Linked DNA regions of Homo sapiens: all the other regions are linked to region 1. Evidence: promoter capture Hi-C in 16 types of primary human blood cells and fetal thymus (Javierre and others, 2016). All regions are on one chromosome and are shown on one strand. Each heading gives the region's core, a stretch centred on a gene start or on the middle of the fragment in contact. The rest is flanking DNA. Distances are from core to core; before and after follow the strand shown.

Region 1 (2,972 bases), core at 202-2,701:
TAACTTTGGGCAAGTTATTTAACCTCCCTATACCTCTGTTTCCTAATCTGTAAAATGAAGATAATATTAGTATCTAACTCATAGGGTTGTTGGGAGGGTTAACTAAGCAAATATACAAAAAGCTGAGAATAGTCCCTGGTATATAGTAAGTGCTCAATAAATTATGGATGGGAGGATCCTGACCCACATGGAGTTTACAGTCTTGGCAGTATGGATCGGGCAGGTAGAAAAAGACACCAAATTACACAGCCAACAGCATCTTTATAATTGTTTTTAATATAGGAAAAGTATAGGGTGCTAAAGATCAATTTGTGGCTTTCTTTTCCAATGAACTGCTAAAGTTCCACTTTTATGCCCAAGATTCTTATCATACTTTTGTAAGATCAAGAACAACATGTGAAGTTTCCACTATTATATATCCACCCATTATATGTAGTTGTACTGGAAAAAATTAAAAGCTGATAACTTTTAATTTGAAGATGATGGTATATACTATGTATATATATTAAGGTGCTTAAAGATAAATCCTAGCACCTGAGGAGGTGTAGAAATCATTCAAACTCTTTGATTACAATGACAAACTAGTCAGTAACTTACTAAATATTGTACTATATATTACTAAGTATTTTACTCTTCAACATAGCTTTTTAAAGACACAAAGCTTTTCAAAATTCCTGCTTACCTGGGGGTAAAATTTGGGGAAGCAGATTTCTCCAGTGTTTAAAGAAGCCAATTTGGCAGTGTACCAGAGTTGAATACATTTTTCCCATCACAAGGGAATACATTTTTCCCATCTAAGTTAAGTTGTTTTTCTCTGGTAAAGGAGGAAATCAACACCCATCTGTACGGAGATAAACGTTTCAGAGTGTTTTTATATTAAATAATTAGTATACTAGTCTAGTAAGTGATAATCCACGAATAAGTTAAGAAGAGCTAAGAAAGAAAAAGAAAAGCATCCATCCATCCTTTGGTTGCAAATAATACTTACATTAGCGTATGGCAAAATTTAATTTTGTACAGAGTAATTTAACCCAGGATTGCTGACTTTTTAAGAGCTGAGAAAGCATAGCTATGGAGCGCAAGGCCCCACCCAGCAGGGTCTAAGTATTCCGTCTGCAAAACTGGCAGGCCACCAACGGCCGCGTCCCAGGGCGGCCTGAAGGATGCTGATAACCGGGAGCCCCGCCCTGGGTTCGGCTATCCCGGGCACCCCGGGCCGGCGGGGCGAGGCTCTCCAATTGCTGGGCCAGAGCGGGACCCTTCCTTTCCGCACCCTCCTGGGTATCTCCGGTCTTCAGGCCTCCTTCGGAGAGCCCTGCTCCGAGCCCATTGGGCTTCCAATCTTGGCCTGCCTAGCGCCGAGCAGCCAATCAGAAGGCAGTCCTCCCGAGGGGGCGGGACGAGGGGGTGGTGCTGATTGGCTGAGCCTGAAGTCGCCACGGACTCGGGGCAACAGGCAGATTTGCCTGCTGAGGGTGGAGACCCACGAGCCGAGGCCTCCTGCAGTGTTCTGCACAGCAAACCGCACGCTATGGCTGACAGCCGGGATCCCGCCAGCGACCAGATGCAGCACTGGAAGGAGCAGCGGGCCGCGCAGGTACACTCTGTGCTCCCCGAGCGGGCCCGAAGGTCCGTTTAGAAAGCGGGGGCGTCGGCAAGTAAAGGCCCGGCTTCCCCCGGGGCGGCGCTTGGAGGGACTGTACCGCGGCTCACTGGGCAGGGGGGATCCCCTTCGGTGCAGACGGACTTTTACATTCGCCGAAGCAGGGGAGGGGGGTCCGGGTAGTGGGGCGCGGGACTGCAGGCTTTGTTGTCCGCGACAGGCTCGGGTGGTTGCTTCAGAATTTTGCACTTTTGCCAACTGGGACAGAGGTCGCAGCTTGAGGACAGATTGAGGGCTCATGGGGAAAGAGGCAGAGAGCTGCAGCTGCAAGGAAGTCAGTGAGGGGAGAAGTGGAACCAGGCTCTAATGGTGCCCTTCTTGAAATACTGTTTACACGCTTTCATAGTTGTGGGGTCCCAGCAGGGCAGGGATTGTGTTTTACAATCTTGAGGTCTCCAGCACCAGTCACAGTGACTGGTACGTACTATGCACATTATTAAACGACTAAATAAAAGAACTTTTACATTCATTGTCTCATTTGCACTTCAAAATGTCAAGCCTAGCATTTTAGAGCTGGGGGGTGACATTAGGGATTGATTAATGCGTTTATTCTATTCTTTGAGCACCTGTAGGTGCTAGGCACTGTTCGGGGCAAGGTGTACAAATTCCAGTGCGGCAAGAACAACACCCTTGAGAAGCTGAGAGTCTAGTCTGGGAGACGAGACACATAAACAGATGATTACACTCCAGCGTGGTGAGGGCTCTAATAGAGGTTATCTGTAGAATGTAGAGGGAGTGACCAGGTGGGCCGGACAAAGCAGGTGACATTTGAACAGGAATTTTTTTAAATGAGTAGGATTTTAACTTGGTGGTGGGGGAGGCATTCCTGGCCTGTGCCCACGGCTGCAGAGTCTCAGAGGGCATCTATGAGGAGGTTGGATTAGATGAGACCACATCTGGTCTGAGTCTACTGTTGGCAGATTGGCCCAGGGAGTCTAAAGGTCTTGCCCTGTTCCCTGGCTGCTGGTTAATGGTAGACAGAGGACTGCAGCCCTGTTTTCCCTATTCTGCCTAGTGCTCTTGCTCAAAACTCAGGTTCGTGAACTGGGGTATTAATGCTAAGTGCTCATGGATTGCTTTAATGGTTCCCTGTTTGGGAAAAGGCTGCCATTCTCCTCCAAGGGCCTGGAAAATCTCCCCTCTTGGCCCTGTTCTTTGTTATATACCATTAGGTTGGTTCATGAGCTCTTAAAGTAAACCAGAGAGAGGTAGAGTCTTAGTAAAGGATGTGCCACTACTTAGTGGCAGAGACAAGGTTAGAATTCAGCTTCTTGGACCCAAGACTCTTTCCTTACCCAGTGGGTGCAAA
Region 2 (2,972 bases), core at 211-2,710, 780 kb after region 1:
ACTAAGGCATGAAAATCACTTGAACCCAGGAATTGGAGGTTGCAGTGAGCCGAGATCGTGCCACTGCACTCCAGCCTGGGCGACAGAACGAGGCTCCGTCCCCCAAAAAAGAACTGAAGCATTTAGAATCATAGTGGCAGTGGTGGTGGTGGTGATGGTGATGGTGATGGTGATAATGATGGTGATGGGATGGTGACGGTCATGGTGATTTTGGTAGTGGGAGTATTGGTGTGGCATTTCAGCAAATGTTGTTTTCATTTGTTTTAACCATCAGCCAAGGAACAAAGCAATCTGTCTCTTCAATATAGTTACACAGGTGACTAAGTGTCACCCGCTTCCACCTTCTCTAATCAAGGAAATGGTGACGATCAGGTTACTATAGATTCCTTATAAGGTGCCTTCATAATGGATAACTGTAGCCATTTTATGTAAGCATTGTCCTGTGATTAAAAAAAAAAAAAGATTCCAGTATGCTTTTGAAAAATGTGGGTGGGGGAGAGAGTTTTAATATGCTGCATTCAAGATTTGACCTATGGATTTAGATTCTAGCAATTCATGAGGTTGTCTTAATCTAAAGCTTTCTGGTGATAGATGTTTGAGAAGCTAGGATTATATTAACTAGTCATGTTGAAACTACAGATTTAACTTTAAAAAATTATTTTAAACTTACTATAATACCCATATTCCAATACACATTATTAATGTTAGCTATCATCTCACCATTTCCTTTTTTACTTATTTTCAATTTTTTTTGAAAATAAGTAGTTGACCTTTCTCTTTGAATCTTTACATCATTCAATCCCAAGATTCCTTATTGCATACTAATTTCCTGCCGCCAAGAAATCTCTGTTTCATGCCCTAAGCCAGAGTATGCCCATTTGCAGTGATTATGTTTCTCATAATCCAATTCATATTGTCCTTATTTAAAATGTACAATGTCTAGTCTCAACCTCATACCTGCAAAGATATCACAATATTTTTGTTAGCATGTTCCTTACCACAGTTCTTGGATTTCTACCAAAACAAAGTTTCTACAAAACTTCCTGTGGTCATCCTTCTTAGCCTTTGCTGCCCCAGTTTCCTTAATTCTTATTAAAGTTCTAGCTCATTTATCAGTGGATTAAGCAATGAACGGTAATTAACATTGTGGACCCATTCAAGGCTGTTTTGCCATCATTTTTTGGAATACCTTAAAAAGACTAAACTTTGTGATAGGCTGTATAAGAATGCAAAGGTAAAGAAATGCAGATGGGAGTGTAAGTGAAAACATGCAGTACTGACCTTCCTGATTGCTCATTACAGGAGACCAAGACACATTCCACCCCAGTGGGGGGTCCCATACCACTCATGGATCTGAATCAGATGGTGAGTTCAAAACTGCTTTAGTCATTTACTGTTATAATCATTGAGCCTAATGATGACTACCAACGAAGTATGAGTCAGTGTCTCCAGAGAAGTGGTTCTCAAACCTTCTTAGCATACATCACAATTGCAGGGAGGGCTTATTAAACCACAATGCTGGACCCCACCCTTAAGGTTCCTGATTCAGTAGGTCTGGGGTGGAGCCCAAGCATTTGCATTTCTAATCAGTTCCCTGGTAATACTGACACTGCTGGGACAGGGATTGCACTTTGAGAGCTACTGCTCTGGAGGAAAGCCTTGCATCTGAAAGCCTCAGGAAGAATTCAAGCAGTGTCCCAATTTAACCTTGCACTACACCAGAGTGATTAAGAGCTTGAGCTTTGTAGCAAAAATGGCCTGAGTTCGATTCCAGCCCTCCGCATATTAACTGAGCAAGATGCTTTAAAGGGTCTGAGACAACATTTCTCAACTAATAAACTTGGAATAATAACAATTGTCACAGGACATTGTTTCAAAGACTAAATGATAGAATACATGTAAAGCATTTAGCATAATCCTGGCACATGATATCATCACTGGTATTTGTTGGGAATTTACTGTGTGCCAGCAGCATCTTTCTAAACACTTTACATGTATTAGGTTGGGCCAAATGGAACTGCCATTATTGTAGGTCAAGAACAGGTCAATATCGGCCAGGCACGGTGGCTCACACCTGTAATCCCAGCACTTTAGGAGGCCGAGGCAGGTGGATCACGAGGTCAGGAGTTCGAGACCAGCCTGGCCAACCCTGTCTCTACTAAAAATACAAAAATTAGCCGGGCGTGGTCCTGCGCACCTGTAATCCCAGCTACTCAGGAGGCTGAGGCAGGAGAATTGCTCGGACCTGGCAGGCAGAGTTTGCAGTGAGCCAAGATTGCACCACTGCACTCCAGCCTGGGTGACAGAGCAAGACTCTGTCTCAAAAAAAACCAAAAAACAAAAAACAAAAAAACAGGTTAATATCAGCAAATTCATAGAGTTTATCTAGTATGAACTCATTCAGTCATCCTATAAACTCTGTGACATAGGTAAGTACTATTATTATCCCCATGTTACAGATGAGGAAACTAAGGCTCAGAGAAGGTAAGTAACTTGGCAGAGTTGACAGGACCAGAGAGTGATGGAGCCACCTTTCAAGCCTGGAGGGCCTTGTATTACTTCTCATAGCACAGTCTGGAGAAGGCATTCCATAATGACCATAATTACTCCCAGGCATGAATTCTTAAATAGACTCCTGTTTGTTGTGATTCAGATCACACCCCTACAAACCTTACCCCAGACTGCAAAAGTCTGACATGAGGTAGGTTTACTAATTACTTCTACTGCTGGGCTACTGGGAGGTTCTGCCAGTGCTGCCTTACTGTGGTCTCCCTGAACATCATAAATCCAGGTGACCCCATGTAAATGATTTAAGCCATATCAATTATTGTCTCCCCTTTTTATGCCCAAGTTTGAGTGAGGCTCACCATCAGATTTAAATGTTTACACATTGAAAACAAATATGAAGATGGATATTTACATGGTGGCTTCCACAATAACTCTCTATGGAGGAGCACTAGGAGGTAGGGATT
Region 3 (2,972 bases), core at 353-2,852, 580 kb before region 1:
TTGTCTTTCACCCGCATTGTCATCTCATAGGCACGAATCCGCTTGTCACAGGATGCGCAGAGACCGTCTTGCCCAAAAAGCCTGGGGCAAAAGAAAGAAAAGCTAAGAAGACAGTGAAAGGGACAATCCTGGAAGACAGGGCTCGGGGATGAGCCCTAGAAAGGAGGCCGAACTTTCAGGATGTCAGGAAGCCAGGGAAGGTCGGCTCCAGAAGGAGGGCCGGCTAGTGCAGTCTTCACCAGCAGGCAGAGGGAACTCAGATGAAACTGGCATTTGGATCTGGCATAACTCCTCCCTTTTCTGAGCCCTCTCCTTGTCTGCAGCAACCGCTCATCATTCCCCTAGGCTGCCCCCTGGCTCCTCCTCTGTGGGCAAGGCTCTCAGCTGATGTGATCTATCATAAGGAGTTAGGCAAGTATTACCTGTCCCCTCCCAGGGGAACCCTCATTTCAGAAGAGCAGCTGGAGAGAGACCCTAGGGGCCCCTTTGAGAGGGTACTGACCAGGAATGCAATAAAACGGGCATTCTTCTGAGGCTCCCAAACTCTATCATGTCAACAGCCACTGATTCTACCCATGGGGAGAGCTGGCCTTGAATACCTCCATAAGCTGCAAAGCACATCTCCCCCTGATTATTCGCTGGGGCCCCAGCTGCTGGGAGACAGGGAGTTCCACAGAAAACACGCGGTGCAGCTAATCGTGCCTCTGAGATATGGAGGACCAACAGCATCTCTCCACCATGAAGGGAGGATCTTAATTCATGGCCCTCGCTGCCCACTGGCATGAATCAAAAGGGAAACTTCTTTTCTGACATTTAAATCAAGACTCTCCCAAGCCTCAGTTGATCAGTCACTTATTTCAGGCAGTATTCAGTGTCAAGGTGGGAGACAGAACATGGCAGGGCTCAGTGCAGTGGTTCTCAAAGTGTTGGTCCTGGGACCAGCGACATCAGCACTGCCTGGGAACCTGACAGAAATACAAATTCTCAGGCTGGGCGCAGTGGCTCACACCTGTAATCCCAACACTTTGGGAGGCTGAGGCAGGCAAATCACTTGAGCTCACAAGTTCGAGACCACCCTGGGCAACATGGTGAAACTGTGTCTTTACAAAAAATACAAAAATTAGCCGGGTGCGGTGGTGCATGCCTCTAGTCTCAGCTATTAATACTTGGGAGGCTGAGGTGGGAGGATGGCTTTAGCCCGGGAGGTGGAGGTTGCAGTGAGCCGAGATCATGCCACTGCACTCCAGCCTGGGCCACAGAGCCATACCTTGACTCAAAAGAAAAGCAAAAACTAAACAAACAAACAAAAAAACAAATTCTCAGCCCTCCTCCTTCCCTACCCAACTGAGACACCCTGGGGAGAAGGCCCAGCAGTCTGTGCGTTAATGAACACTTCCGGGGGACTGGTTGCAGGCTGACATTTGAGAATCAACAGCAAAAGTGCAGTAACACAAGTACCGGAAGCAGAGAAGACCCAGCTTCAATGTCCCGGACCAGCCCTGAGTGACCCTGGAGAGACCTCTGATTCTCTGAGCCTCAGTGAAATGGCAGCCATCATAGGCTCCACCTCACTCAGCTGTTAAAACAACCAAACGAAGCATGTCAGGGCACCCATGGTCAAGGGCTAAGCCAACGCTGGTTATGTTTTAACACATCTTGGGTGTATTCCCAGCTGTGCCAGTCTTGCTGCAGGAAGTAATTTTCACTCGTGGCTGAAAACATAGCATGTTAGCAGGTGGTTTCTACATAAAACCTTTAGGACAGTTTTAGGTGAATGCTTGCTCTTATTGGAAGTTCTGGTTGATTTCAGGATATCAGAGAATCAGTGGGTACATTCTGAGAGGTTGTAGGGGACCTAAGGGCAGTTGACACATTTTGCAATATTTGGGCGAGATTAATGGAATTGACAAGAGGTGGTCTGTGAGTGGAGAGCTCATTGTTCGGGCCAGGGCCAGCTAATTTGCCTCTGAATCCTGCTTTCCATTTGAAGATCTCTGAGTGTTTTCAAAGCACCGCCTGGGAGCAAACTCATTACTGGGGGGAGAACATTTTATCCCAACGTAGCAGATGGTGGAGCTGCAGGTAACCGCCACATTGGAGGTCACAGAGTGGAAAGACAGTTCTGGTTTCCTGACTGCTCTGTAAGTTAAGTTTGGGCCTGAGCAAGGATGAACGACTGAGAAAACAGTGTGCATGGAATGAATCCAACTGCCTGGGGTGTGCGATCCTTAAGGAAGGAGGGAGCTTATTAAAGGGAAGTCAGGGGGTAAATTACAACCCACATCAGGCAGCTATGAAGGGAAGGACAAAGGACGAATATGTGGGAGACAAGTTCAGGTCCCAGCATGACCTCTAACTTGCCAGGTGACCTGAGCAAATGGAGTCCCCTGTACAGGCTTCTGTGACTTAAGCCATAAAGCAAGGGAACTGAAAAAGAAGGTCTCTGTAGCCCCTTCCAGCTCTGGGATTCGGAGATTCTAATATTAGTAAAAAATAAGCCGGGACTTGACACCTAACTTGAGCATTAACCTCTGGCACCAAGAATTGGTATCTTAGGCTGGATATCCCAGAAGCAGCCCCTGAGGCAAGGATTGATGTGCCAGTGATTTATGAATGAGGCATTCTCAGGAAAAACCTGGAAGGCAGCAGGGGAGGCTGGAGGGAAGGGGAGGAAGCCAAGCCAAGTTGTATCCTCAGGCAAAGTCCCTCAGAGGGGAGGGACCCTGGAATATAAGTTATGCCTGGCTCCAGGCAAGGCTGCGGGGCTTGGTACTCCCACCATGTCTGTCACTGGTTAAGGTCCGTTGGGGGTCTAGTTGGGGCAGGCATACTTCTGGCTCTAACAGATTCAGGTGCTGGCTGTTAAAAGCAAAACCACTGCCATCACCGCCACCCCACCACTCCCAGCACACAAGAATTAGTGAAAAGGGATCCAAGGAGATCTGGCTCAGCACAGACATGAACAGCTGCTC

What was found. The method cuts DNA at HindIII sites, captures the fragments that hold promoters and counts their contacts. A CHiCAGO score of 5 or more calls a contact.
Region 2: the fragment with the promoter of CD44-AS1 here is called in contact with the fragment with the promoter of CAT in region 1 in 1 of 17 cell types (neutrophils); the score reaches 6.9 in neutrophils.
Region 3: a contact is called between a fragment that was not itself captured here and the fragment with the promoter of CAT in region 1, in 1 of 17 cell types (fetal thymus). The highest score is 5.3, in fetal thymus.

Annotation. Positions count from the first base shown.
Region 1 is chr11:34,437,483-34,440,454 of GRCh38, forward strand. It overlaps CAT (catalase), which reads left to right and starts at 1,452. Exons shown (of 13, transcript NM_001752.4): 1 at 1,452-1,597. The coding sequence starts at 1,532. RefSeq lists enhancers at 1,265-1,314, 1,485-1,784. The HindIII fragment of the contact is 7,598 bases long and covers 660-2,972 here.
Region 2 is chr11:35,213,550-35,216,521 of GRCh38, forward strand. It overlaps CD44-AS1 (CD44 antisense RNA 1), which reads right to left and starts at 1,461. Exons shown (of 2, transcript NR_174965.1): 1 at 1,282-1,461. It overlaps CD44 (CD44 molecule (IN blood group)), which reads left to right. Exons shown (of 18, transcript NM_000610.4): 15 at 1,303-1,365. RefSeq lists an enhancer at 691-1,890. The HindIII fragment of the contact is 2,794 bases long and covers 576-2,972 here.
Region 3 is chr11:33,859,495-33,862,466 of GRCh38, forward strand. LMO2 (LIM domain only 2) reads right to left here. Exons shown (of 6, transcript NM_005574.4): 6 at 1-81. Among named protein-coding and RNA genes, the nearest start is that of LMO2, 31 kb to the right of the region's middle. The HindIII fragment of the contact is 4,505 bases long and covers 1-2,972 here.